Regions from separate parts of the Homo sapiens genome. Here all the other regions are linked to region 3. The links are contacts of gene promoters, found by promoter capture Hi-C in blood cells and fetal thymus (Javierre and others, 2016). All regions are on one chromosome and are shown on one strand. The core of a region is centred on a gene start or on the middle of the fragment in contact, and the rest is flanking DNA. Distances in the headings are between cores, read along the strand shown.

Region 1 (3,801 bases), core at 739-3,238, 320 kb before region 3:
AGTCACCTATCTTTTCTTTCAGTTTCTCTTTCCATCATTATGGTTGTTGTTTGCTTATTTCCAGGCTAATTCAAAGTGTTATTGAGAACCTATCAATTTGTTGTCCCATGTAGTATAGTTAATAACGTTTTGGGTAACATAATTTTAGTCTTTTAAAAAAGTAATAAAAATACTAACAGTAGCTAGCATCTATTAAATACTTATTAGGAGCTAGATGTTTTTACATCTGTTTCTCTAATTCTCACAGTAACCTGGCCAAGGCATGTGTAATACTCCAGTTTTACAGATGAGGAAACTGTAAACCAGCGAGGTTAAATAATTTGTCTCAAAGTTACACAGCCTGTGTGAGTGACAGAGTTAATATTTAGATTCATGACTTTCTTTCTCTAACACCATGGGTCTTTATGATCTTTTTGTGTTGTTTGCTGGTTTTGCTTTGGACTTCACAACTCGACTTGTTTGCTTATCTTATCCCTTCCACTTGGAATGGCATCTCCTTAACAGTTTCAGACTCTACTAGTAGCAAATGTACCTATTATTTAAGCCTTAGACCAAATGCCACCCTTCTAAAGCTTTTCTTACAGTGCCATTTGGAAGTAAACTGTCTCTTTTGAGCTCCCACAATACTTTGTACCTTTCTTTGTATATTTATTTTGCCTTCAGTTATAATTATTGCTAAACATATCTTAATTTACCCAATGGAGACTGTCTTTGATTTCCTGTAGTGTAAGACAGCCTTGAACACTGAAGGTACTCAGTATTTGTTGACTTGACATTACAGGTAAAAACCCATCAAAATAGGAGTAAACACTATTGATGCTTTTGTAAAAAAAATTGGAAGAACATGGCAACATGGTAATGATTTGTATATTTATGATCATTTTTGCTTCTCGTTATTTGAAAATCTTGCTAAATTTTGCTGGTGGTATAATTAAATGTGGCATGCATTTCCTGGTTTGGTGAAAAGGTTCATAATCTTAGCTATCATTTTCTTTAAAAAAAGATAATAAAGAAATGTCTGTTTGGCAGGCAGGAAGAACCTGCTGTTTTAATTTTGTTCACAGCAGTGGGTCAGATTATGATCTTTTGGAGCTAGCTTTGATAATAGACTCAATATAATATTGGAATTCAACAATTGGTTATTGTTGAGTATATTATCTCTTGCACTGATGGCTGTCAGTGGGATTGCCAGACTGTTTAGAATAAGTTTATGGCTGTTTAGAATAAGTTTATGGCAAATAGTCTGCTCTTCTCTAAATACAATGTTTCCATTTATTACTTACTGTAGTATTTTATATGTGCATTGTCTTTTTGTTTTGTTTTTAGTTTTCTTCTCAGAGAGAGGCAATTAAACCAAAACTTGCTCACCAGTGGGGGTGGGGAATCTTACTATTGATTATTTATTCAAATTTTGAATTATATTTTTTCTTCTAAACGTCTTTAAATAGGCCTTTTCCCTCTTCTAACTTGACTGATTAACATTTAATTCAAACAAAGATTAACAAAATTTTAAACACTTTTATGGTGATAAAGGCACACTGTGGTTATAATTTATTGAATTTTGAGCTCCGAGTCTCTGTTAAACTAGGATTTCTGACTGTGCTTTTATAGTTTCTTCTATCTGAATTCTTGAAACATCATAAGACTCTATTTACTTCCCTCAAAGGAGAAGTCCTTTTGTTAAGATAATATTTTTAAATGAATATCAGTCTTTTTCATTTCATGTCTCTTGGACTTGATGAAATTACTCATGAAGCAAAAGGTGGATAGGAGACAGTAACTCAAAGAAGTCTTTTGGCCCTTAAGCTAAGACAGTGGGTAAAAGTTACACAAATTATGAGACCAGCAAAAGCACTCTTAATTTTAAGGTTTGAGAATCTGATTATTAAATATCCATTGAAATAATCAGATTAAAGCCATAAATATTCTTTAAGCATTTGACATTAACCAGAATCTACAAAATGATTAAAGTTTTAGTTCTAGTGACAGGAATTTAAATTCTCCTTCATAAAATTCCTGTTGTTGTTAATGTTAAGTTATTGCAAAAGTAACACATGTTAATTCTAGGGAACTAGTATAACAATTCTAATAGTAGCTAACTTTAGAGTTCATTATATTTTGCTATTTAGCATAAACCTGTTAGTCCTTATAACAATCATATGAGGCAAATACTGTTATTTTTCCTATTTCATAGATGAGGAAACCGAGCACAGAGAAATGAAGGGACTTTACTGAGGCCATACAGTATTTGGACTCAGGCAGTTTGGCCTTAGAGTCTGTGCCCTTAACCTCTGTTCAGTATTGCTTCTCACTGAGTGGTTAAGATTTGGGGATTGTTAAGATAGACCTGGATTGAAATCATGGCTGCCACTTTATACTCTTGGGAGAGGAGTATATTTCTTGACTTCTCTGAGCTTCAGTATTCTTGATTATAAAACAAAGGTTGTTTTAGGGATAAAATAAGATATATTAACTGCTTATCCCACTGTTCCCCAGATGCTGTGCTTGTTCAATAGAAGGTATCATTTAAAACAAATAATGAGAAACAAAAGGAAAAAAGTCACCAAAACTAAACAATAACCATTGCTAACATTTCGAGTTATCCAGTCTTGTAAAACACGTTTCTTGATTTTATTAATATATTTTTTCTTTATATTAATTTTCTTTCATGTATAACTTTTTCTTGTTTTTGTTTCACAAAATAAGGTGGGAAGACTTGGATTTGCCTGTATCACTAAGCAGTAACGCAAGCCTTTTTCAGCTTCTATGCTAGCCAAAACTTTTTTTTCTCTGTTTAGAAGTGGGTAGATGGAGATAGAGGAGGACATGGAAGTACACCCACTTTTTTTTTTCCTTTTTAAATAAAAACAGGATTATGTTTAAAATTTCTTATATAACATCTGCAGATCAACAAAATCTAGGATGCTAGAAGTAGGGAGAACATGTGCTAGTATTACTTTTATTAAAATAACAATGAAACTCCAGTTTCAGACTGTTAAGAGTTGTTAACTGAAAATACTATATTTGTATAAACAATCCTAATGAATGTAGACTATTTCCTCTCGATGAGTGAGCTTGTAGAAGTCTGACCATGTGTTGCATTGTTAAATAAATTCACTAGGTGTAGCATAGCAGTAACTAATCTGTCTTTCTATAGCTTTAGCAACAAAGCATGGCTAATGCTTTTTTTTTTTTTTGTCTTTTAGATCTACACACAATGAGCTGGAAAAGAATCGGTGAGTCAGTGATGAGGTACAGCTTTCACTTACGTTTAAAAGCAAACTCACCATTTTACCTGTGAAAATAATGTAATAGTGCATATGTAGTTGTAATTTTATTTTTCAGATGTATAGCCCATTGTGAATCTGATATATATGTATTTTCTCCAAAAAATGATTTAATAGTAAGCTTATAGCAGCTAGAAGACATAAATACATTTTTAAAGCTTACTCGAATTTGAGTTTTAGGTATAGCCTTTATTTCTGTCTCTGAAAATGAGTTAATTGTTACAAGCTCATGGTTTAAATGTAGTTTTGCTAAAGGGTAGGATTTCTAAAGAGTAGGTAATAAGCATTACAAATTGGAGGGCATTGAATTTTTCTTCCTTTGTAATTTGTTCATTCATTCATTCATTTATTCATGCATTCAACAACTATTTATCAAACATGAGCTGTATGTCAGTGCCAGGCAGGCAGAATGCTTTATATAGGAAATACAAGAATATATATGATAGTTTTTGTCCTTAAGGAATTCAGAACTTTGTAAGGGAAAGACAGGTAATTAAAGTACTATATAATGTGG
Region 2 (3,490 bases), core at 783-3,282, 470 kb before region 3:
CAAAGATACTAAGTGTCTTTATGGTGTGTGGGTGTGTGTGTGTATGTATGAAAAATATATAGTTATGTGAATGTGGTCTTTCCCTGTATCTCAAAATCTTATTGTACTATATTCGCCTATTTTTGAACAGTGGTTGACCACAGGTAACTGAAACTGCAGTTAAGGAGGGGAACTACTGTATTGATAAAATGTTAGTGAGTACTTTTTAATATTTAATGATGTACTTAAAACTTGTCCCTTTGGTATTTAGGTCAAATAAACCACCATTATACAACTACCCCACTTGTACATCTATTTTTCTGTGCATGCTAGGCAAACGGACCATTAAGTCTATTACAAGCACTAGAATTTTAGTTCTTCTTAATAGCCTGTTCCTCTCAGTGGATGGTATTTATAAAATACATCCATAAACATGGCGTGATGGGTCTGTTTTCTTTCTTATATTTCATTGAAGGAGTAAATTTTGATTATGGGGCAATCTGGATGACATGGTAATGCTAATAAACATCATTATTATGATTTTATAATATGATATTTGAGCAATGTAACTTTAGAAAAGTCACTCAACACCACTGAGTATAGTTTCCTCTCATCTGTAAAAAGTGATCATTGAATCTAGTCTGAAATATTTCAAGAGAAGCTCATATAAAATCAATAGCCTTTTAGGAATAAGAGCCTAGTGCTTTGTGGGATAATTAAGTTTTTCTCCATTTGTGCACTTAGTGCCATCTGTATTACTCAGTGCTGCTCAATGCCAGGTTCATTTGGGTTTTTTCTCCCATTTTTCTTCATTTTTATCTATTTCTGCTTCAAGTTTTCAGATCTGTCAATTTCCATGTCAGTTGTATATAAAATTTTGGCTAGCATTTAAAAGCAGCTCATGTCTTTTAGAACTTAAAATGAAGAAAATTTCACTAGTGATCTAAGGATAGTAGCTTGTCATAGTTTGTGTAGGGTCTAAGTTGTTTTCTAGAACTTCAAATAACTTTAAAATTTCATAGTAACTTTCATCAAGAAAAACTGAAATAGCATTTGTTGTTTTGTTTTTTAACCAAATATGCTGCTTTGCGGTCTTGGCATATCTTTGATTATTCTTTGAAGTGTGGAAAAATAGGTCTGGTAGTTGAAAGTACAGCCATCTCTTTGCTTATTCTAAAGAAAGCTATTCAAACTGCCAAGAATTTTAAGTTTGGAAAGATTTTTTTGTAAGTAATAACTTCTTTTCAAAAGATTGTTTTTACTATTCCCAGCCTATAAATAATGCAAACCAGATTTATTTGGAAGGAGTTGTGATATAGTAAAGTAACTTAATTCAGCCCCCATTTATGGAGTTCTCGCCCATTGTGAGGACTACAAGAGAGTCCCCATTCCCAAGCTTGCAAGGTGGTCAGTAGCTTCTCAGGTTGGATTTTTAAAATAACAGTTTTATGGAGATAATTCACATACCATGCCATTTGGCCATATAAAGTATACAATTCAGTGGTTTTTAATATAGTCACAGAGTTGTACAACTATCACCACAATAATTTTAGAACATGTTCATCACTCCAAAAATAAATCTCATTGGCGGCCACTCCTCATTTTCCCATAGTGCCTGGCAGCCATTAATCTGTTTTCTACCTCTATAGATTTGTCTTTTCTAAACATTTCATATAAATGGAGTCATACAATATGTGGTCCTTGGTGACTAGCTTCTTTCACTTACAATGTTTTCAAGGTTCATCCATGCTGAAGCACATATCAGTATTCCATTTCCTTTTATTGCCATGTAATATTCCACTTTCTGGATTACCATATGACAAAATACTATACTTTGTGTTTGTCAGTTGATAGATGTTTGGGTTGTTTCTACTTTTTCCTGTTAATGAAAAAATATGCTATAATTTTATAATAGTCAAAGACGAGAAATAACCAGTTGTCTTTGAGTAGACAAATGATTAAACAAATAATGATACAGCCATACCATAGAATAGCATTCAACAGTAAAAAGGAACAAATTATTGATATGACAGCCTCCACAAATGTTCAGTAAATGATTGAGTGAAAAAAGCCAATCCCCAAAGGTTTTATATGTTGCATATTTTCATTTGTATAATATTCTTTAAATGACAATTATAGCAATAGAGAATGGATTAGTGGTTGCTGCTGATTAAGGAGGGAGTGGAAATGGGCATTGCTATTAAAGGGCAGCATGCGGAGTACTTCTGGTGATGGAAATAATCTCCTTCTTGACTATATTACTGTCAGTGTGCTGGTTGTGATACTGTAATATAGTTTTGCAATGTGTTGCCATTGGGAGAAACTGGGGAAAAGGGCATAAGGGATGTCTGTGTTATTTATTATAGATTATTATATAAAAATATTTTTTTGGAAAAAAACAATACTCAGTTGGCTCTTTCAGCATTCTACCTAGAAATCTTAGTGAGCTCCACATTCGTTAAGCATGTTTTCTAGTTTTCAAGTTAACACATTCTTGTTAGTTTGTGCTCTCATTATGCAACATAACCCTCTCTCCAGTCTCCAGTAGCAGTCTCCTCACTGCCTTGTCAGCCTCCACTAATAGCCTCCCCACTGCCTAGGCCCCAGAGCTAATGCCAGGTTTTCAGTTTTTGTTATTACAGCACCAGTAACACCAGTTTTCACTTTAGTTATCTGTTGCTGTGTGAAAAACAGAAACAACAACAAAAACAAAGCTTTGTGTGTTTAACAATTTATTATTTCTCATGATTCTGTATGTTGACTGAGTAGCACCTTACCTGCTTTTACCTGGACTCATTCATGTTGCGATAGTTAGCTGGGGGGGGTCTGCTGGGAACCTGGCTTACTGGGGACAGCTGGGCCTCTTTCTCCTCATTTTTCATTATGGGCTTCTTCATGGTGTGGCAGCTGCACGACCCTCAAAGTGTATAATGTCACTTCAGCCACATTGTTTTAGTCAAAGCAAATCACAAGTCCAAACCAGATTTAAGGGATAGGAAAATAGTCTCTACTTCTTAGTGGAAAAAGTAGATCGCAGGGAAGCATGGAAGAATTCTTGAGGCCGTCTTTGAAAAACGATGTACCACAGAGCCCAAATCAGGAGTCCAGCTCATCTAGAGGCATCTAACAGGTAACTCAGGTGGAAAGGGCTCTACAAGTGGACCTGAATACAAGCAACCCAGATTGTAAGATAGGCAAGAATGGCACTAGCAGTGCTGGTGAGCTCAGAATTGAACATAGGGGTATTTTTCTCAGTCTGTGAACACTTTGGGTTAATTTGATAATGAACAGCTTTACAAAATACATGGTATGAGCATATGTCAGATACTGTTTAAGTATATTAACAGTTATACAATGTTACTACCTCTGTTACTTTGAGTTTTGAGGGTTCTTATATTAATCTAAGTGGATTGGGAATATAGCTTTCATATGTATGACTGTTTTTGTTTAATAGCTCAGGTATTGTTTGGGGGTTTTCTTTTTGTAAGTGTGTTTTGTATCCTATCTTACC
Region 3 (3,785 bases), core at 647-3,146:
CGGAGTTTTGCCATGCTGAGCCTCCACTTCCTAGTCTATAAAATGAAGATGATAAAACTCCATCATATTTAGAATTACAAACAGGATGTATAAGATAATCCTATCTGCCACGTTGGCCAGACTGTTCTGAAACTCCTGACCTCAAGTGATCCACCCACCTGGGCCTCCCAAAGTGCTGGGATTACAGGCGTGAACCACCATACCTGTCCTAAGCTTTAAATAATACAACTAAAATCTAGAAGTAAAATGTTTAGATTGAGTGCAGTGGCTCATTCCTGTAATCCCAGCATTTAGGGAGGCAGAGGTGGGAGGATCGCTTGAGGCCAGAAGTTAGAGACCAGCCTGGGCAACATAAGGAGACCTGGTCTCTACAAAAACAAAAAAAAGCTGGGCTTGGTGGCCACAGCCTGTAGGCTGAGGTGGGAGGATGGCTTGAACCCAGGAGTTTGAGGCTGCAGTGAACCATGACCGAGCCACTATGCTCCAGCTCCACCCTGGGTGACAGAGCAAGATCCTGTCAAAAAAAAAAAAAAAAGTTAGAAATAAAGAAAAGAAAATGCTTACATATTTATTTAATTTATTTTGAGACAGTCTCGCTCTGTTGCCCAGGCTGGAGTGCAGTGGCGCGATCTTGGCTCACTGCAACCTCTGCCTCCTGGATTCAAGCAATTCTCCTGCCCCAGCCTCCCGACTAACTGGGATTACAGGCACCCGCCACGACGCCCAGCTAATTTTTGTATTTCGAGTAGAGACGGGGGTTTCGCCATGCTGGCCAGGCTGGTCTTGAACTCGTGACCTCAGGTGATCCTCCCCCCTCAGCCTCCCAAAGTGCTGGGATTACACGCTTGAGCCACTCGACCAGGCCTATTTATTTTTTTAAACCAAGGGCTGGATAGGATTTGATCCGGGCTCCAGATAAAGGACTCCTAGGGAGATACCCTGGTTAGCAGAGGCAGTTAGGAGGCTACTAAAAATAGTTCAATCTAGAAATAATTAGGGCCAGAATTGTCTCCAGCAGCGGGCGGGGGTGGGGCTGGGGATGATTTGGGTAGTTATTTTGTTCTCTTCCCAGCAAGTAATTTCAGAGCAGCCCAGAGATTCATTTTCTAAACAAATGATGTTTTTCTCCCAAGACTGACAAGGATCAGACAGACCTAGGGTTGCCACTAGCACCTAGTATCTTTCAGGCTGTTTTCTTTTGTTTTTAAAGTGGATTAAAAGCTTTCAGCCTTACCTAAATCTTTGTTGCAATTGTACAGATCTGCCTAGATTTATAGCAGATGGTAGAACAGAAACAGTTCCCGACGGAATTAATCATCACATTATTAAAACAAATTTTCGAGCATTGACAAATCCCTTCGGGGTTGTCCTCCGAGTGGGCAATTCGTAACCAGCTTGGGGCGTGCTAAGATTGTAAACGTTCCTATGGAGAGCGATAACAAAGGGGCAGCAGTGACTCCGCACACAGAATTCCAAGAATCACCAGCATTCCATGTGTTCCAAGGCTAGCACAGTGCGCGCGAGGTCCGCTTTTTTAAACAGCGCGGAATCACGTGGCCGACAGCCCGCGGCGCTACTGGCCCTCGGAGTCTCCCTCTTGGCTTTGGCGCGGAACCTTTCCCCCTTTGTGGACGCGACCATTGGCCCCGCGCTCGGAGGTGGTACGGACCAACCCTACGGTCATAGATTTTCCGAGTGAAGCTTTTGACTAAGTCTCAGGAAAGCGTTAGCTACAGAATTCTAGATTCAAAAGAAATCCACCAAAAAACGCTGTGGAGGACTGGTTTTGCCTAAAAGAAAGAGCAGACCTGAACTTGACTCCTCCTACGCCCTGTGAAGGCTGCAAGGTGGTTCCGTCCGAGGCGCGGACTCCGCCCCCACGAGCGCCGCCATTTTGTTTGGCTGAGGGGAGCGAGCGGCGCTTTGGGGGAGGGGTCGCGTAGGCGCCTCACCTGACCCTGCGGCCGTGCGGTTGCTGCTCCGGGGCAGGTCTCCTTCCAGGCCAGGGGCCCGGAATCATGTACATAAAGCAGGTAAGGCCTTCGCGTCCCTCCACCCCGTCATGGGCCGGTAAGGGCCGCTCCTTGAGGCGGGAGTGTTGCGGCGCCACCCGCAGCCTCTCCCCTGTCTCCACAGGCTGGACCAGGGCTGGGCGGGGACTGTGGGGGAGGAGGGAGACCCGGGTCCCGCTAGTGCCCCGGCTGCGGGGTCGCGGAGAATTGGGGCACTCCTTTGCAGCCCCGGCCTCCCTGCTGGCGCTTGTCTGGGAGAGGCAGGATCTCCGAGAGGTGTGGAAGGGCCGGCGGGCGGGCCGCTGGGAGGGACTGGGCCTTCCTGGGTGGCCCCAGAGCTGGCGGGGGGCACCCCGCCGGGGCGGCCGCGGGCGGGAAGGGCTGTGTGGTCCTGCAGGGGTGGCCTCACACGGCCCATGTGCCTGGGATGTGTGGAAAGGTGGCTTCCCCGGCCCGGGGGCGGCCCTGGGGGCATTGGCTGGGGTGTCGTCACCTGTCACTGCGGGGAGCCGTTCTTCTCCCCAGTTAACCCGCGAAGTGAGCGGGACCCTCCTGCTTGCAGGATACGGAGCGCCGCCTCCCTCGGTTGTTTACTTCTGTCAAAATGGTCTTCCCGCGCGGGACTCCACCACAAAGATGAGCCCAGGCACACGGCCTTGGAGACGGTTTTCTGTTGGGTCTGTCGGGCTCTGAGCACTCCTTCTTTGGAACGTGGGTTCTTTCAGGCTGGCCGGCGTGAGTGACTGAAAGCAGCACTCGGTGGTCTTGGAGTCAGGAGAGCTGGGGCCCGTCGGCCTGCTTTTATAGACTTGCTATTGTACTGCAGCGTTTAGGGTTCAGTTAAGCTCACACAGTGTTTTTGATTTTGAAAGGTCCTTAACAGGTTGACAGCATAACTCCTAAAAAAAAATAAAACCCAGCAGCATTGCCTTGGCAAAGATTACCGATAAAAGTACCTTTTTTTTTTTTTAGCAGATTTTTAATCACCACTTTCCAAAATGAATTTTTCTTATATGAAATTTCGAGTTTTCTATATTGCATTAAATGAAAAACAAGAAAGAAATGCAAGAGAAAAATGTTAATTTTTTTTGTGGGGTGGGTTCTCAAAAATGTTTTTTATTTACTAGGTGATTATCCAGGGTTTTCGAAGTTACAGAGATCAAACAATTGTAGATCCCTTCAGTTCAAAACATAATGTGATTGGTAAGTGTTCTTGGTTTACTCGGTCATATTTATAGTCTATACAGATAATGTAAATTCTGTCCATTTCTATATTGGCTTAAGGAGACAGGAATTGTCTTTGAATATTAAGTTATATTTTTCTGCGTGAAATAACTTTTCTGTCTTATTGCACTGATGAATTGCTTATTTTTATAAACTTAAAATGTTTGGATAAGACACTCATAAGTTATCCATTTTTTATCTAGGTAGCCTTGTATGTGTGTGTAAGAGTGTTTTAAAGCATTTCCGCTCTTCTGTTCTTGTTATATATCCTAGTGAAAATGCTGACTGTTGCCTTATTTCAGAGACAGACAATTTTTATTCACAAAGTAGATGCCAGGATTCCCCCCCCACCCCGGCAGTCAGTGTCTCTAAGGACAGACCATGTAGCTAGATTGGAAGAGCATAAACTTTGGAGCATAACAGAATGGGGTTCAAATCCCAGTTATAGGGGGGTGGGGGCCTGGGGGAGGGATAGCATTAGGAGAAATACCTAATGTAAATGTCGAGTTGATGGGTGCAGCAAACCAACATGGCACATGTATACCTATG
Region 4 (3,944 bases), core at 959-3,458, 430 kb after region 3:
TCAGCAGGACGTGGGTGGGGCCAGATAAGAGAATAAAAGCAGGCTGCCGGAGCCAGCATTGGCAACCCACTCGGGTCCCCTTCCACACTGTGGAAGCTTTGTTCTTTCGCTCTTTGCAATAAATCTTGCTACTGCTCAAAAAAAACAAAAACAAAAAACAAAAAAAAACACAACAAAATGTTGCTTTACTCTACTGCAAATCAGACAGGAGAACCAAAATTTAAGATACTTGAAATGTTATCAAGTGATTTTCTTATCCCTCTCATTGATGTTTAGTCACTATGTATATCTTAGGATATTAAACATGCTAGACATTTTATTGTTTCTTGAACATATCAGGTAAATTCTAGCCTTGAGATCTTTGTGCTTCCCATCTCTCTGTTTAGAACTCTTTTCTCCTAAATATCTGTGTAACTTTGCCTGCTCCTTCAACTGATCAGATAGATATATATAGCATGATTTTCATTCGGCCTTCTTCTCTGTCTCAAATAGTCTAACAATATTTTATTATTTAATATTTTTATATATGTGTCTGTATCTCAAACTTGTTAAATAACAGTCAAAGGGGCATGCGATTAAAGTACTGAAATGAATAATCCTGGTAAACAGAGAAAGCATAGGTGGTGATATATGATACAGTCTTCTAGTAAGTAGGATTAGTGTCCTATTGGAGGTAATTCTTCTGTGTTTTAAGTGTGTTTACTAATATGAAAACATTTGATTTTATTATTAATCTCTTGTAGTTTAGATGTTATCCTAGAATAACACATATGCCTCACCTCTAGCTTATTCTATAGGGCCAGATTACAGTATTACAAATTGGAAATCAATGAGAACTGAAACATTAACAACAAGAAAATTTTAAATAACATTGCATTTACTTTTATATGCTTTGATGGTTGTCACCAAGTATAGTACAGCTGTTACTCTGAGTAAATGGCAAAGTAAATTAGTAATATTTATTGAAACTTTTTATGATATTGTAGTCATTTATCGATTACCATGTTTATTAAAATAATTACTTTATCTTTCTCCATCCTTTCCAGTCCTAGTATTTTGATGATGTAGCAGAAGATTGAGGTTTGGTGGGAAACTTTGACGTTTGGGTCTTGGTCTGTTAAAAATTTCAACAGTTTTAATTGACCTTTGAGATTTTCACTCTCATTTATTGAAGATGAAGAATTTACCCTAAGTAGTGGAAACTTAATTGAATTATGGTTCTCCTGATACTTCTCCTTTTTTAAATCCTACTCTAGTTCTGAGAAAGTATAACTTAAAATGAAAAACAAACAGAAAGCCCAACACCTGTTCTGCAGAGTTGATGCTAGTCTGGAAGCAGCTGCCCACTCTCTTTTCCTTGGACTAAAGAATCTTGCCCTAAACTTGTAACTGAAAATCAAATCTTGTATTGTCTTAAAATCACTTCCCAGAAATCACTGTATTTACTTGCCTTTTCCTTTTTTTCTTTTTTCTTATAAGTAGACCAGAATGTTTTTTACTTTTTTCTTTATTTAACATGAACATTCCTGGAGTAACTATCACTCCCCTGTGATAATTACTGCCATTTACTTCCAGGCTGAGAAGCTAGTATCGCTGACAACTCATAGGATGTGAGGAAGAGACAGAAGGAAATGGGTTGGGGATTACCAAGTTGCAGTTAAGTAAGAGAGTGCTTAAATACATATTTATAGTTTCTCTGATTTAACTGTTAGTCTGCCTTGTTGAATAAAAAAAGTATTATTTTATATGAATATTTTCTCATTCAGAAATTAGCTATGAACAGAAGAAAATATTAAGCTTTATTCCAACAGTTATTTTGTTTTAAAGTATGAACCTGATGTTTTTTAAAGCCTTCTGGTACCTCTGGTAGTTTTATGTAATCCAGGGAAGAAACAGTCCGAAGTAGGAAAAAATACTTTACTTTGTATTTCTTCTCAAAATGAGATTAGGAGAGAACTGTGCCACAAAACCTTGCCTTCAAGGCTGGAGTGCAGAACAATTCACAGAAGCCTTTTTGTTGCACTGGGCTCTGAAGAAATGTTACATTAATTATGGTTATATCAACAAGTAGCATTTTAGTCATTTTAGTAATTGGGTTTTAGGTAATTACAGTGCAGCGTATGTATAACAACTTTACTAGTTTTCTTTTTAATGGTGGTGTTCTTTGGGTTTTTAACATTCAGGAATTTCTGTGTTGCTTACTTTTCAGTTTGCTTTCAGTTTAATGTTTCTGAAAAAATAATGGTACCTTTGACATTTCATCCTTCCAACCCTGAGTCTTTCCTACTATTTTTTTTGCTACTTTGTTAAAATAAGATTATGATCATTTAAATTAGTCTTACTCGAAAGTTATACTAAATTAAACTAAAGTTGCTGGTTATATTTGCTGAAATTGAAAGAATCTAATTTTAATTCATAGCCATTTGATTTCACCATATTTTAAAAATCTGACAGCGTAAGAGAAAGCAAGCTGTCAAAGTGGAGCACAGAACAATTTGTAGACAAAGTTAAGCACTTGAAAGCTAAATGCCAGTGATTGGCAGTGATCAGCCTACGTTTATATACAGGAGCTCAGCAACAATGATTTTATTTCTTAGTCAAGATGGCTCAACATTAAAGCAAGCTTGTGTTGATTTCTAGGTTGCAGTTTAGTTTGTGGTTAAAACCACTCATTGAGAGGGGTTAGAGCTGAAACCACTGCAGAGGGTGAATCACAATAAATGCCAGACTTCTGATGTTTTCTTCTGGCGTAAAAGAGTTTTGATATTTCATCCTTAATTTTTTTAACCTTTTTTATTTAGCTGAGAGTAATGGACTTTGGCAAAATGTGGATGACTCTTTGAATTTGCCAGTGGTCTCAAGTGATAGGGCCTTTGCAAATGTGAGATTTCTTCATCAGAACAGCCTATTCTCATAGATTACATTGTTAGAAATTCAACCCCTTCCGCCCCAGCAAAAAGCAAAAAATTTAGATCCAAGAAAGGTGGAGGTACCTTTTAATTTAAATTACTACTGGTTTTGGTACTAGATAATGTCATGTAGCAATTTGGCTACATTATTTTTATTTTGTAATTTTTAAATTCTAGGAACCTACTCTGGTTTTAAAAGTGAGAAACTTAAGAGTTATTTGGTTTTGGATGAGAAATTTCAAGAATCTGGTTCTATTTACTAGGCTTTTGAGTTGACAAACATTTAGAATTTGGTTCCCCTACTAACCTTTGTTACCACAGAAAGTTTTTTAGTTTTCAGTGAGAATAAAAAACATTTAAAATATTGTATTTATCTACCATGATACTGTAAAGGGTTATTGAATGAGGCATGTCAGTTGATGGAGTAAGATCATGGAGACTTCTCTCTGTTAATAAATTCTCCCCTCTTATGGCAGACTTCAAAGACCCCTTGGTGAAAGATTCAGCCATTTTGTTACAATGGATCAACTTTCTTCCATAGGGAAAGCAGTGATGTAAAGGAGAAAAAGGGATGGTCTTGTTTACTTCCATTTTTTTTTTTAAAGGTTAGCTGCCTCATTTTATCTGCAGCTGCATACAGGAAATTAAAATTTTATCAGAAGGTTTTGAAGTTCTTTGTAATCAGACATGATCACTACTTGGAGGAAAATGTTCACTTCTGCTGGCCTTGCTGTAGCAGTGGCCATAGGAATGGAATAGGCAAGGGATAAAATGTTGATACCATCCCTCCCCATTTTACAAGGATGTGAGTAAATGGGGGCTATTCTTCACTCTTAGTGGAAATAAAAATGATATAGCCTTTTGTTATTTATTAAAATTTTAAATATCTATATCATCTGACACATAAATATTTTCACATGTGCACAAAGATACATGTCTAGGGGTATTCATTACATAATTCTTTTTTAAAAAATTAAATGCCATCAGTTGAGCAATGATTGGAGAGATAATGGTACACATGACATGAAACACTTT
Region 5 (3,656 bases), core at 1,157-3,656, 330 kb after region 3:
GCCTTTGCTTTAGAATTTTAGAAGCCATTAAAAGAGAGGGAAAAGAAAGTGATGAAAGATAGTTTAATAGCTTTACTAGAAATGTTTGGAAATACAGACGTTAGCTTGGTGATGGCAGGATTTATGTATGGATGTGCCAAGTGATATACATCAGTAAAAACTCTGAACTTTGGCCTTCTTATTATTGACTGCTTTTTCATTCCCTACCTTGGTCTCATACAGTCTGAAGCCTTTATGTTCAAGATGATGTAGCTGTTTTCCACTTAGACTTAATATGAAAAGGGGCCAGTACCCTGGCATTGGCTTTTTGAAAGTTTTTCAGCCTCTGTTTGAAAGTCTGATTGTTTCTGTGTGGCTTTATTCTCAAGGGTCACATGAGGCAATAAACTTTCTGTGTATACATACCATACAGCTTTGACTTGGGTCCTTCATCTTTTAGCCTATTTGGGTAAGGTGCACATTTGTGTGTGGTTTTGCATGCTTGTGCCTATTGGCCTGGGGTCAGAGAGTAAGGGCTAATGTTGCCTAAGTTCTATTTCCCACTTACTGCTTTAGGCCACTGGCCAGCTGTTCCTTCTGGGCTATTGCCACTACATGTAGGTAAGAGTGTGGTTACATTATAGAGCAGGGCTTCTTGAGTTTGACAAAGCACGAATCCCAAAATGGGGCATAGGCTGTAATTCTGATTTTTTTCCACATTCAAGTTATGGCTTTTCTACAGTTGATAAAACATTTTTTTTTAAATTGCCAAACATGGATATTTTGATAGGTTGCACAGCTCCAGTTTGCATAATTCTGAATTATGTTAGTGTTTCCTATTTGGCTTACTGTTAAGCTTACAAATAATAATTAGAAATTAATTAGAAATAATTTTAAATTTCTAAATAAAATGTTTTAGTTTGAGTCAACTTTTTTTAATGTGACTCTGTTTGGATAGTGAACTTATTAAAACAAAAACTCAGATTTGATATTGATGTTTTATGCTAAGATATATAGTAGGGAGTCTTTTCCAAAGGAATTAGAGGCATGCTTTTTTTTTTTAATGGAAAACCCTTTAAAAGCTAACACGTAACGAAAAAATACCAAGTTTTTAATTTTTTTATATATTGACTATAGTCAGAATTTGTATCTGTTTTCATGTCTTTTTTTTTCTTCATTACAGGGGCAGAAAGCGTTTTGTAAGCGAAGGAGATGGAGGTCGTCTTAAACCAGAGAGCTACTGAATATAAGAACTCTTGCAGTCTTAGATGTTATAAAAATATATATCTGAATTGTAAGAGTTGTTAGCACAAGTTTTTTTTTTTTTTTTTTTTAAGCACTTGTTTTGGGTACAAGGCATTTCTGACATTTTATAAACCTACATTTAAGGGGAATTTTTAAAGGAAATGTTTTTTCTTTTTTTTTTGTTTTTCGAGGGGGCAAGGAGGGACAGAAAAGTAACCTCTTCTTAAGTGGAATATTCTAATAAGCTACCTTTTGTAAGTGCCATGTTTATTATCTAATCATTCCAAGTTTTGCATTGATGTCTGACTGCCACTCCTTTCTTTCAAGGACAGTGTTTTTTGTAGTAAAATCACTGGTTTATACAAAGCTTTATTTAGGGGGTAAAGTTAAGCTGCTAAAACCCCATGTTGGCTGCTGCTGTTGAGATACTGTGCTTTGGGAGTAAAAAAAGAAAGTTATTTCTTTGTCTTAAAGAATTTTTAAAAAATTAGTCATGAGACTTATTCATCTTTCCAGGGAACATACTGATTGGTCTTAAAAGACTAGACAGTTAAGTAAAAGGTGGCTGGAACATCTATTTTTCTACAAAACTGGAAAAATGAACCTGGTTCTAGAAGAATGTACACCAAAATAAAACATGTGAAGCAGTATTGATTCTTTATTGGGAGTACATTTTTTTAGGTCTCTTAAACTTTAATTTCACACAGTAAATTTTGAATCTCATAAGGAAGCATATTTGAACCTAGTCAATTTAATCTTAGTGTTCCCTTGAAAACTTTTTTTCCCTACAAAATTTTAAGTGAAAAATACAATAGTAAATTAAGATTACACTGGGGAAAAAAATGCAGGTATCACTTTACTCCATTGTTATCTGACCTAGAGCTTAATTAAGTTTTAGAAATATGTAATACCTTCCATCATTCCATCATCCTTAAATTCTGTTACCAAATAATGGCTAATGTTACAAAAAGTTATACTCCAGAGACCCAAAGCTTGACATTTACCTAATGTATGAGAAAATATTACCAATTAACAATAAAGAATGATCATATTTTTAACCTCTTTTACATAGCCTAATAACTCAGCAAGGCCTCAACGTCTGTGCTAATTTAAACTGCCAAATATTGACTGCAGCAAACAAGAATTATATTCAGAATTTATGAGGGTACTGTTAGGAGTATACTGCTTACAGGTTTAGATATAGTCTGTTAGAATTAAAACCAAGTTTAGTGTTCATATTTACCTCATGGGCTTTATCAAGCCCATATTACCTCAGCTTATATATAGTTACCATTTTTAGGTTTTTAATTGTTTGACACTTGGATGATAAATGCAGTCATTTTATTCTCAAGTGCTTAAAATTAATGTAATTAAAAGCTTAGCTGACTACAGAATAGGTGAGGGTTTCTTAAAAATGAGATTTAAGGGCTGGGCACGGTGGCTCATGCCTGTAATCCCAGCACTTTGGGAGGCCGAGGTGGGCGGATCACTTGAGGTTGGGAGTTCATGACCAGCTTGACCAACATGAAGAAACCCTGTCTCTATTAAAAATACAAAAGTAGCCAGGCATGGTGGCGCATGCGTGTAATCCCAGCTACTTGGGAGGCTGAGGCAGGAGAATTGCTTGAACCTGGGAGGCAGAGGTTGCAGTGAGTCGAGATGGTGCCATTGCTCTCGTTTGGGCAACAAGAGTGAAACTCTTGTCTCAAAAAAAAAAAAAAATGAGGTTTAAGACAGTTTTGTCATTACTGGTGGGATCTGGTCACACAAGATAGCATTAAACGTGACATGGCACATAAAATTGGTTAAAAAATTTTGTTTTTTAATTACGTAATGTAAAAGCCCAACAAACACTTTATGCAAGATTGGAATGTATCTTCAAATTCAGATTTAATAAACATGTAAAGATCCTCTGTATATAAAAGTTGTATTTAATCCCTTGTGCCCAAGAATGCTATAAAAGATCCCAAGAATGTTATCTATAAAAGATAGCAATAGGAATGGTGAACAAATAATTTAATTTGCAATTCTAAAAACATGACTTAAACCCCATAAAACTTGGTTCATAGTTTAACTGTTTATGTTCAATACAAACCAGAGTGTTTACATTCACAATACAAATTTCATCAATCTTGGATATTTTTGTATTTCTATGAATACTATCAATTTTATTGATAACACATACTACTTTCAGCACACAGAAGCATATTTTCTAGTTATTGTTAAATAGTAGATAAGGCAGGTTGTTCCCTAAAGTGCTCAGTTATCATTCAGTGGGTTATTTGCCGTTGATCCTTTTCTGCCATTTCTTGTTGGCGAATTGTATTCTGTGCTGCTTGATGCATTTTCTCTAGTTTTTCCAGAGTCAGAGATTTTAAGGGTAAAAGTTTGGGTTTACACAGCACCATTGTCATTATATCTTCCACAAACAG
Region 6 (3,665 bases), core at 258-2,757, 450 kb before region 3:
TGCTTTTCAAAATCATATTTGATACAATAATCTGCATACCCAGAAAGCAAAAGGCCTTTGGGACCAAATGCTACCATTCTAGGAAACAACTGGAGAAATAACATTTGGATTCTAAAACTAACCAGTTTGAAAATTGGGTCATTGAGTTTTTTGGAGCAAAGCTTCTTTCATAATATTTGACACAGCATATAAGTTGAGTTGTATTCCCTAAGTCCTTTTTGTGTGTGTGTGGAAGAAACAAAATGGGAAGTGAATAAAGTGGGAAGTGGGCTGCAATGGTGAAACACAGTGAATAGGCCAGTGTTTTCCTGAGCTGACCAAACAATCAGGTTCCTATGAAAATGTATTTAGTAACCAAATGTGTTATCTTGGTATGGGCCAAACCAAATAGGTATCCTCCATGAAATGTGGGATCCTTCCAATTTCTCAAGAGTCTCTTCTTCTGGGAGATGTTGCCTATTATGACTACCAAGGGTCACTTGAAGAACAGGAGGAGAGAATTCAACTGCAGAAGGTTCTGGGACCAAGTTGTAAGGTATGTAGTAGAGTTTGTCTAAGGAGCTATTTTTGTTGCTGCTGCTGTTGATGAAAACAGTGTGAGCTATGCCAGTTATTTCAAGTGATTGCTGTGGGCATTCTATTTTAGGTGCTGGTACTCAGGAATCATGGTGTGGTTGCACTTGGAGAAACATTAGAGGAGGCTTTTCATTATATTTTTAATGTGCAACTAGCCTGTGAGATTCAGGTAGGAAACATTATTCCCCTTTTTTAATTGCTTTGTTATTTGCTCGTTTAGTTGGATTTTGTGTACTTATTTGCAAATACATATTAGTTAGTGGCTTTTTGTCTTTTAAGAGAAGTTCTGCTCTACTTATGTAGGCAGGGTTTTCAACTCAGTTATCTCTTGAATTGAAAATAGGAGTAAAGGAAATTAAAATTTTCTCACACACAATCTAAGGGCCTCATAAACATCATTTTCCCTACAATCCTGCTTTTTAAGTTAGTACAATTGCATATTTCTGTTTTCACCCTGTAGTGGTGGTACTAATTAAGGAAGAAAAACAGCTGCAAATCAAGAATCAAATGTGTTGTGGTCACTTTTGTAAAAAGTTTGACTAGGTCCAGAAGTTATATGAAATTGCAGTTTTCAACAATTCCACAGCCTCATTATGATGAGAGGTTGGATATTTATTAATCATTTTTTTCATCAGAGATGTTGAATGTATTTAAAGGCCCTAATTTTCTTTTTCTTTTTCTTTTTTTTTTAATTATACTTTAAGTTTTAGGGTACATGTGCACATTGTGCAGGTTAGTTACATATGTATACATGTGCCATGCTGGTGCGCTGCACCCACCAACTCGTCATCTAGCATTAGGTATATCTCCCAATGCTATCCCTCCCCCCTCCCCCCACCCCACCACAGTCCCCAGAGTGTGATATTCCCCTTCCTGTGTCCATGTGATCTCATTGTTCAATTCCCACCTATGAGTGAGAATATGCGGTGTTTGGTTTTTTGTTCTTGTGATAGTTTACTGAGAATGATGATTTCCAATTTCATCCATGTCCCTACAAAGGACATGAACTCATCATTTTTTATGGCTGCATAGTATTCTATGGTGTATATGTGCCACATTTTCTTAATCCAGTCTATCATTGTTGGACATTTGGTTGGTTCCAAGTCTTTGCTATTGTGAATAATGCCGCAATAAACATACGTGTGCATGTGTCTTTATAGCAGCATGATTTATAGTCCTTTGGGTATATACCCAGTAATGGAATGGCTGGGTCAAATGGTATTTCTAGTTCAAGATCCCTGAGGAATCGCCACACTGACTTCCACAATGGTTGAACTAGAGAGCCCGCATCGCCAAGTCAATCCTAAGCCAAAAGAACAAAGCTGGAGGCATCACACTACCTGACTTCAAACTATACTACAAGGCTACAGTAACCAAAACAGCATGGTACTGGTATCAAAACAGAGATATAGATAAATGGAACAGAACGGAGCCCTCAGAAATAACGCCACATACCTACGACTAGCTGATCTTTGACAAACCTGAGAAAAACAAGCAATGGGGAAAGGATTCCCTATTTAATAAATGGTGCTGGGAAAACTGGCTAGCCATATGTAGAAAGCTGAAACTGGATCCCTTCCTTACACCTTATACAAAAATCAATTCAAGATGGATTAAAGATTTAAACGTTAGACCTAAAACCATAAAAACCTTAGAAGAAAACCTAGGCATTACCATTCAGGACATAGGCATGGGCAAGGACTTCATGTCCAAAACACCAAAAGCAATGGCAACAAAAGACAAAATTGACAAATGGGATCTAATTAAACTAAAGGCCCTAATTTTCTCTTTAAATCAAGCAGATTTGGCCAGGCACGGTAGCTCATGCCTGTAATCCCAGCACTTTGGGAGGCTGAGCTGGGTAGATCACCTGAGGTCAGGAGTTCGAGACCAGCCTGACCAACATGGAGAAACCCCGTCTGTACTAAAAATACAAAATTAACAGGGCGTGGTGTCATGTGCCTGTAATCCCAGCTACTTGGGAGGCTGAGGCGGGAGAATCGCTTGAACCCGGGAGGCGAAGTTTGCAGTGAGCCGATATCGTGCCATTGCACTCCAGCCTGGGCAACAAGAGTGAAACTCAGTCCTCAATAAATAAATAAATAAATAAAGCAAATTCTCATGAAGCAAATGGTAATAATCTTAATTTATTGGAAGGGCCACAAGAAAGGGGGAAAAGAACAACTAAAAAAAAACTTTTTCTACCAACATTAACTTGTCCTAACAATCAACTTATTTTTGCTTTAATGGTTCCTCCTCTTCTCAAATGGGGCTATGAAAAGCTTAATTAAATTAAGATAATGAGCTGATGGCTTCTGCCTAAATATCTTTAAATTCAAAGTACAGTGTTTTTGTATTTCCTTAAAATTATAGCTTTTAGCAAAAGTATTAACTGGATAACCCTGGGAAAACTTCAAGAAAAGAAATTTAAAATTTGGCAGCAGAATTCCGTGGCTTAAAATATGTTAAGAGGTATGGCTCTAATGTGTTTTCCATCAGGGAGGATCAGAGTCTTGGAAGGTTTCTTTTTCAGATAGGTGGAAAAGATACTTCAGCTGTCTGCTGGCACAAGAGTGTCATCTTGTCTTTGTTGTTAGTAGCCTGAGCAAGTATTATAGATATTTGCCAAATTGAAATTGTGCCTTTTTGAAAGTAAAATACTCATTACAGTCTTTATAGTTTTGTGTCTCTGTATATTTTACCATTGATTACAGGTGCAGGCCCTAGCAGGTGCAGGTGGAGTAGACAATCTCCATGTACTGGACTTTCAGAAGTATAAAGCTTTCACTTACACTGTAGCAGCGTCTGGTGGAGGAGGTGTGAATATGGGTTCCCATCAAAAATGGAAGGTTGGCGAAATTGAGTTTGAAGGGCTTATGAGGACTCTGGACAACTTGGTAGGTTGCAAAATTGAAGTAAAACTTGGATTTAATGTCTTCAGATTCAAGAGCAGATGCTTCCATTTTTGTAGAACATGCTCCATACTCTTCCAGAAGCTGAGTTTGGCCCTAGGAAAGCATTTCATTGTTATTTAACCACACCTTTGAGAATTAAACAGAACTTACAAATGTCGTGTTTTTTTTTTAAGA
Region 7 (3,936 bases), core at 366-2,865, 350 kb before region 3:
CTGGTTGTGTGGTTTAGTGTTCAGGGCCTGGCTAGACCTAACTGTGACCTCCACAACTTTCTGCTGCCTGGAAAAGGGTGGTGATGCCAAGGGGTGGGGGCAGGGCAACTCGAGGCCAGCTCCTGGCAGGGGAGGGAGGGTTACCCAGGGCTTTGGCAAGAATGTGGGGCATCCTCTTAGCAGCAGGAGAAGGCCTTAAAAACAAGTTACATCTAACTTTGAAAGAACAGACTATTGCAATACCAACATCTAGGAAACACAACAAAAAATACAGTTTACTTTTGCTTTCAAATATAGATGCAGAAATCCTAAACAAAAATATCAACTCTTGGAACTGAACAGTGCTTCAAAACAATAACACACCGTGGCTGACCAGGTTATTTGCCAGATATTGCTGAAAGTCACAAAATCTACCAGCATAAATGATTACAGGCACAAATTAAAGAATAAAATGTGTTTACACTAACAAATGTTGAAAAGTATTTGGGAGGCATTTCTAATGAAGAAAACTACTTCGGCACAACAAAGATTGTTTCCTGTGGTGGTCTTTTAATTATAGTGGAAGGGTGAGGTTGGGCCCAAGGTTTGCGGTCATCACCAGGAGTGAAGGAGTTGACTCTGATGGCAACCTTTCCTTGGGGAAGAATGAACCATAAACAGAAAAAAACAGCATTTGGATCCTTTGGGAATGCAACTTCGTCTTGATATTTAAAGGAATGGGCCCCACGGGTTTAAAAAAGCCTGAGTTCTAACCCTTATTCCATCAGTTTGATAGACAGCTGTTGGCCTTGGGCAAGTTACCATACCTCTCTGAGCCTCAGCTTTCTCAAGTGAAAAATGGGGACTGTATTGAGAAACAAGCTTAATGACACAAACTTCTATGACATAAACCTTGAAATGTTATTTGGGGAAATATTCACTTGGCATGGCCCTAGCAAAATCCTCCCAAATACCTTATCAGTAGCACCCTGGTGTCACCCCAAGTGGGGTGCTCCAAAGTAAGCAAGCCGCTTAGATGTGCATGTTAATTGAGTCCTGCAATGCAGATGTCTTCTTGGATCCAAGTTCATGCAAAAAAGAAGGAAAAGGACATTTGAGAGATTAACACATCCATTATAATCACTGAAATAGGCTGCTGTAATAAGGGCCATTTAATAAAATGTAAGAAGCCCTTTTCTAAGAGGGAAGAGATGGGTCAGGATGGAAGTCAAGTGCAGCTGTTTGAGCATTTGCCAGTGGTCTGATCTCACCAGTAAAACTGGAGTTAAAAAGCAACAAACTTCCAGATTCAGCCGTCTCAGATAAACACTGCCTCCCCCTGGCGTTCCCCCCACCCCATGTCCTTTCCCTTTCTCCCCAGCTCGGGCAGCACCTGAGTCGCTTGGTGCGTTTCCGTGTGGTTGGGATGTCAGCCGGCAGCCCTGGCGACAGGAGCCCTGGGAGGCGGCAGCTACCTCTCGGGTTTAGCATTACGTCATCCCTTCTAGACCCAAATTTATCTCGGCTGCACACAGACCCGCAGCTCTGAGCTGCCGCTGACTTGAGGAGAGCTTACGCATGAACTTAGGCAAGGCTGACTCACTGGGCGAGGGAAAGGTTTTCTGCTGTTCTTCACGTTTCTGGGCTCTGGGGGAAGAGGAGGGGAGGAGGCTGCAGTAGTCATTTTGGGATGGGAGATGGAAAAATGTATAACTGTTAACGGTTCTCATTTAAGAGCTTAGAGTTCACCTCCCGTGTCCCCAGTGTTGATTATTTGAAAACGCCCATCCTTAAAGATAATTGCAGAAAACAGTGCCCTACTCAGTAAACACTTTGCAGTTTCAGGGAAGTTCTCCTAAGTGCAAGGTGTCATCAACACAGTAACTTTGGACTTGTAACTTAACCTCATGGCCCCTTCCTCTCTCCCCATCTCGCCTCCCTGAAGAAAAGATACAACACATCAGCCTCCATTGTTTATGAATCTGCAATAAATCACTTGGAAATTGTCACTAAGTAAACTGTGCTGAGAAAGGACCCTTAAGAATTGAGGGCTTTGCCTGCTTCCTTCAGAAGGCAGATTGTCCCCATCCGTGGCTGTGATCGTTATAGGCCTGGGGTATTCTGGGGGACTTTCTCCATTTTCAAATGACTCCCTTGAGAGAGAGATATACTTTAGGGAGAGGACAGAACAGAGACTATGGGTAGGATTCCAGGTTCTTATGTCAGTAGACTTTGGAAGCCTTGCTTTTCCTGTTTCCCCATCTGCATTTGTAGTGCAAACTAGTTCATCGGAACAAAAGAAAGGCTATGGCTGCCTCTGGGTTCCTCCGGGCTGAGACTGTTGCTGAGGGATGGTTTGTGGGTAGCATTACTTTCCTGTGGATAGAGCCCTAAGCTTTGTGCTGGAGAGGCCCTTATAGCTGATGTCCAAGGAAGGACTCCAGGAGGCAGCCAGCGCAGGGAGAAGGAAGTGGCACTTCAATTGCTTTTAGAAAAGGCTGGAGATTTCTGTACATGAACCAGCCCTTAATACTGCCCACCATGATCATCATCTCTCCCCTTCTTCAATGCAGGTGGCCTTTTGGTGAGTCTCGCTCTACTTTCCATGTCCTCATCTCCCTCTTGGCCATGGCTCTAGAAGAAGGGCTCTAGGTTAGTTCACCTGGAGGTCAACTGTGAAAGGCCATGCATAGGCCCCAGGCCTCTTGCATGTAGCCATCTCTTCCTAACCAGCTATGGTTCTGTGACCTCTGGAATTAAAGCCATCTTGAATTCATGTATATTTTCAGTTTGTACTACTTTTCTTGATTGCTTGTCACACAAGTTTACCTCCTATTGAGAAAAGTAGAGTTGTATTTGTCCTGGCCAGGGACACTTTGGGAGGCTGAGGTGGGCGAGTCACGAGGTCAGGAGTTTGAGACCAGTGTGGCCAACATGGTGAAACCCTGTCTCTACGAAAATCAAAAAATTAGCTGGGCGTGGTGGCAGGCGCCTGTAACCCCAGCTACTTGGGAGGCTGTGTCAGGAGAACCCGGGAGGTGGAGGTTGCAATGAGCCGAGATCGCGCCACTGCACTCCAGCTGGGGTGACAGAGTAAGACTCCGTCTCAAAAAATAAATAAATAAATAAATAAAAAATAAATAAATTCTACCCTCAACTAACAGATGTTCTAAATGAATGGTATTTTCTTTAAAATAATCCAGTCCCACCCCTACCCAACATGGCCCTTGTTGAGGGTGAAGGGAGGTTGTTACCAACACCCAGTGGGAAAGTCCAGATCCAAAATGACCTGGGAAAGTCCAGATCCAAAACGACCTAGTCAAGAGCTAAAAGAACAGTCCCTTTTTGAAAGCCTTTACAAAAAAAAAAAAAAGTTCTTCTGTGGCTTGCGAACACCTCTCATTTTGGGTCTGCTTGCATTTGATGGAACGTCTATTTGGTCTTAAATGTGGTGCCAAGTGTAATATTTAAAAGGACTGGCAGAATTTTGCAGCTTGTGACCTCACTGGAGATTTTGTTCACTTTACCAAAAAAAAAGAAAAGAAAAAAGAAAACAAAAGGTATGAGGGAAAGGTAAGAAAACAAAAGGTATGAGGGAAAGGTATATTAAAATGCAGCATGAAGCCGATAACATTTTTAAGAGGGTAAGATTTCCATCTCAAGATGGTATTTTCTGCAGGAGCCAATGGAATGACCACGGGAGGGGGAAACTCCCCCCTCACCAGGAGCTTCCTGTTATTTTGGATGTGATGTCAAGCAGCAGGTTAATATAATTGGGGTGGAAAAAAGTTATGGGTATGTTTGCACGGTTCCCAGCTTGTTCCTAGAGCATTCAAGTACGATTCTCTTGTTCTTCCTCTCCCTAGATCCCTTGTTCCCAACTGGGGGACAGGGGAGGGATTTTGTGCCCCAGGAGATATTTGGCAATGTCTAGAGGCATTTTTGGTTGTCACACCT

Evidence for each region. Contacts are between HindIII fragments. The CHiCAGO score rates a contact against its expected background, and 5 or more counts as called.
Region 1: a contact is called between a fragment that was not itself captured here and the fragment with the promoter of SMC3 in region 3, in 2 of 17 cell types (naive CD4 T cells and neutrophils). The highest score is 6.2, in naive CD4 T cells.
Region 2: a contact is called between a fragment that was not itself captured here and the fragment with the promoter of SMC3 in region 3, in 3 of 17 cell types (total CD4 T cells, total B cells and non-activated CD4 T cells). The highest score is 5.5, in total CD4 T cells.
Region 4: a contact is called between a fragment that was not itself captured here and the fragment with the promoter of SMC3 in region 3, in 5 of 17 cell types (activated CD4 T cells, total CD4 T cells, naive CD8 T cells and 2 more). The highest score is 6.5, in activated CD4 T cells.
Region 5: a contact is called between a fragment that was not itself captured here and the fragment with the promoter of SMC3 in region 3, in 1 of 17 cell types (naive CD4 T cells). The highest score is 7.2, in naive CD4 T cells.
Region 6: a contact is called between a fragment that was not itself captured here and the fragment with the promoter of SMC3 in region 3, in 8 of 17 cell types (total CD4 T cells, total B cells, naive CD4 T cells and 5 more). The highest score is 11.1, in total CD4 T cells.
Region 7: a fragment that was not itself captured here is called in contact with the fragment with the promoter of SMC3 in region 3 in 14 of 17 cell types (fetal thymus, naive CD4 T cells, total CD4 T cells and 11 more); the score reaches 19.2 in fetal thymus.

The regions. Positions count from the first base shown.
Region 1 is chr10:110,241,622-110,245,422 of GRCh38, forward strand. It overlaps MXI1 (MAX interactor 1, dimerization protein), which reads left to right. Exons shown (of 6, transcript NM_130439.3): 3 at 3,207-3,236. Among named protein-coding and RNA genes, the nearest start is that of MXI1, 36 kb to the left of the region's middle. The HindIII fragment of the contact is 2,836 bases long and covers 571-3,406 here.
Region 2 is chr10:110,093,796-110,097,285 of GRCh38, forward strand. The region is part of intron 1 of ADD3 (adducin 3); the gene reads left to right. Among named protein-coding and RNA genes, the nearest start is that of ADD3-AS1, 87 kb to the left of the region's middle. The HindIII fragment of the contact is 1,318 bases long and covers 1,374-2,691 here.
Region 3 is chr10:110,565,799-110,569,583 of GRCh38, forward strand. SMC3 (structural maintenance of chromosomes 3) reads left to right here and starts at 1,897. Exons shown (of 29, transcript NM_005445.4): 1 at 1,897-2,033; 2 at 3,140-3,215. The coding sequence starts at 2,019. LOC105378483 (a long non-coding RNA gene) reads right to left here and starts at 1,510. Exons shown (of 2, transcript XR_946318.2): 1 at 1,235-1,510. RefSeq lists enhancers at 200-902, 1,717-1,766, 1,777-1,876 and a silencer at 2,217-2,506. The HindIII fragment of the contact is 2,181 bases long and covers 1,700-3,785 here.
Region 4 is chr10:110,990,612-110,994,555 of GRCh38, forward strand. The region is part of intron 3 of SHOC2 (SHOC2 leucine rich repeat scaffold protein); the gene reads left to right. Among named protein-coding and RNA genes, the nearest start is that of MIR548E, 3.7 kb to the left of the region's middle. The HindIII fragment of the contact is 826 bases long and covers 1,796-2,621 here.
Region 5 is chr10:110,896,866-110,900,521 of GRCh38, forward strand. It overlaps PDCD4 (programmed cell death 4), which reads left to right. Exons shown (of 12, transcript NM_014456.5): 12 at 1,163-3,141. The coding sequence ends at 1,223. BBIP1 (BBSome interacting protein 1) reads right to left here. Exons shown (of 4, transcript NM_001195305.3): 4 at 1,865-3,656. The coding sequence ends at 3,495. It overlaps MIR4680 (microRNA 4680), which reads left to right and starts at 1,225; the gene lies at 1,225-1,290. The HindIII fragment of the contact is 385 bases long and covers 2,215-2,599 here.
Region 6 is chr10:110,118,820-110,122,484 of GRCh38, forward strand. It overlaps ADD3 (adducin 3), which reads left to right. Exons shown (of 15, transcript NM_016824.5): 7 at 392-535; 8 at 647-745; 9 at 3,291-3,473. Among named protein-coding and RNA genes, the nearest start is that of MXI1, 87 kb to the right of the region's middle. The HindIII fragment of the contact is 2,697 bases long and covers 160-2,856 here.
Region 7 is chr10:110,220,485-110,224,420 of GRCh38, forward strand. The region is part of intron 1 of MXI1 (MAX interactor 1, dimerization protein); the gene reads left to right. It overlaps LOC105378480 (a long non-coding RNA gene), which reads right to left and starts at 1,443. Exons shown (of 2, transcript XR_946315.4): 1 at 1,373-1,443; 2 at 1-1,050. The HindIII fragment of the contact is 1,513 bases long and covers 860-2,372 here.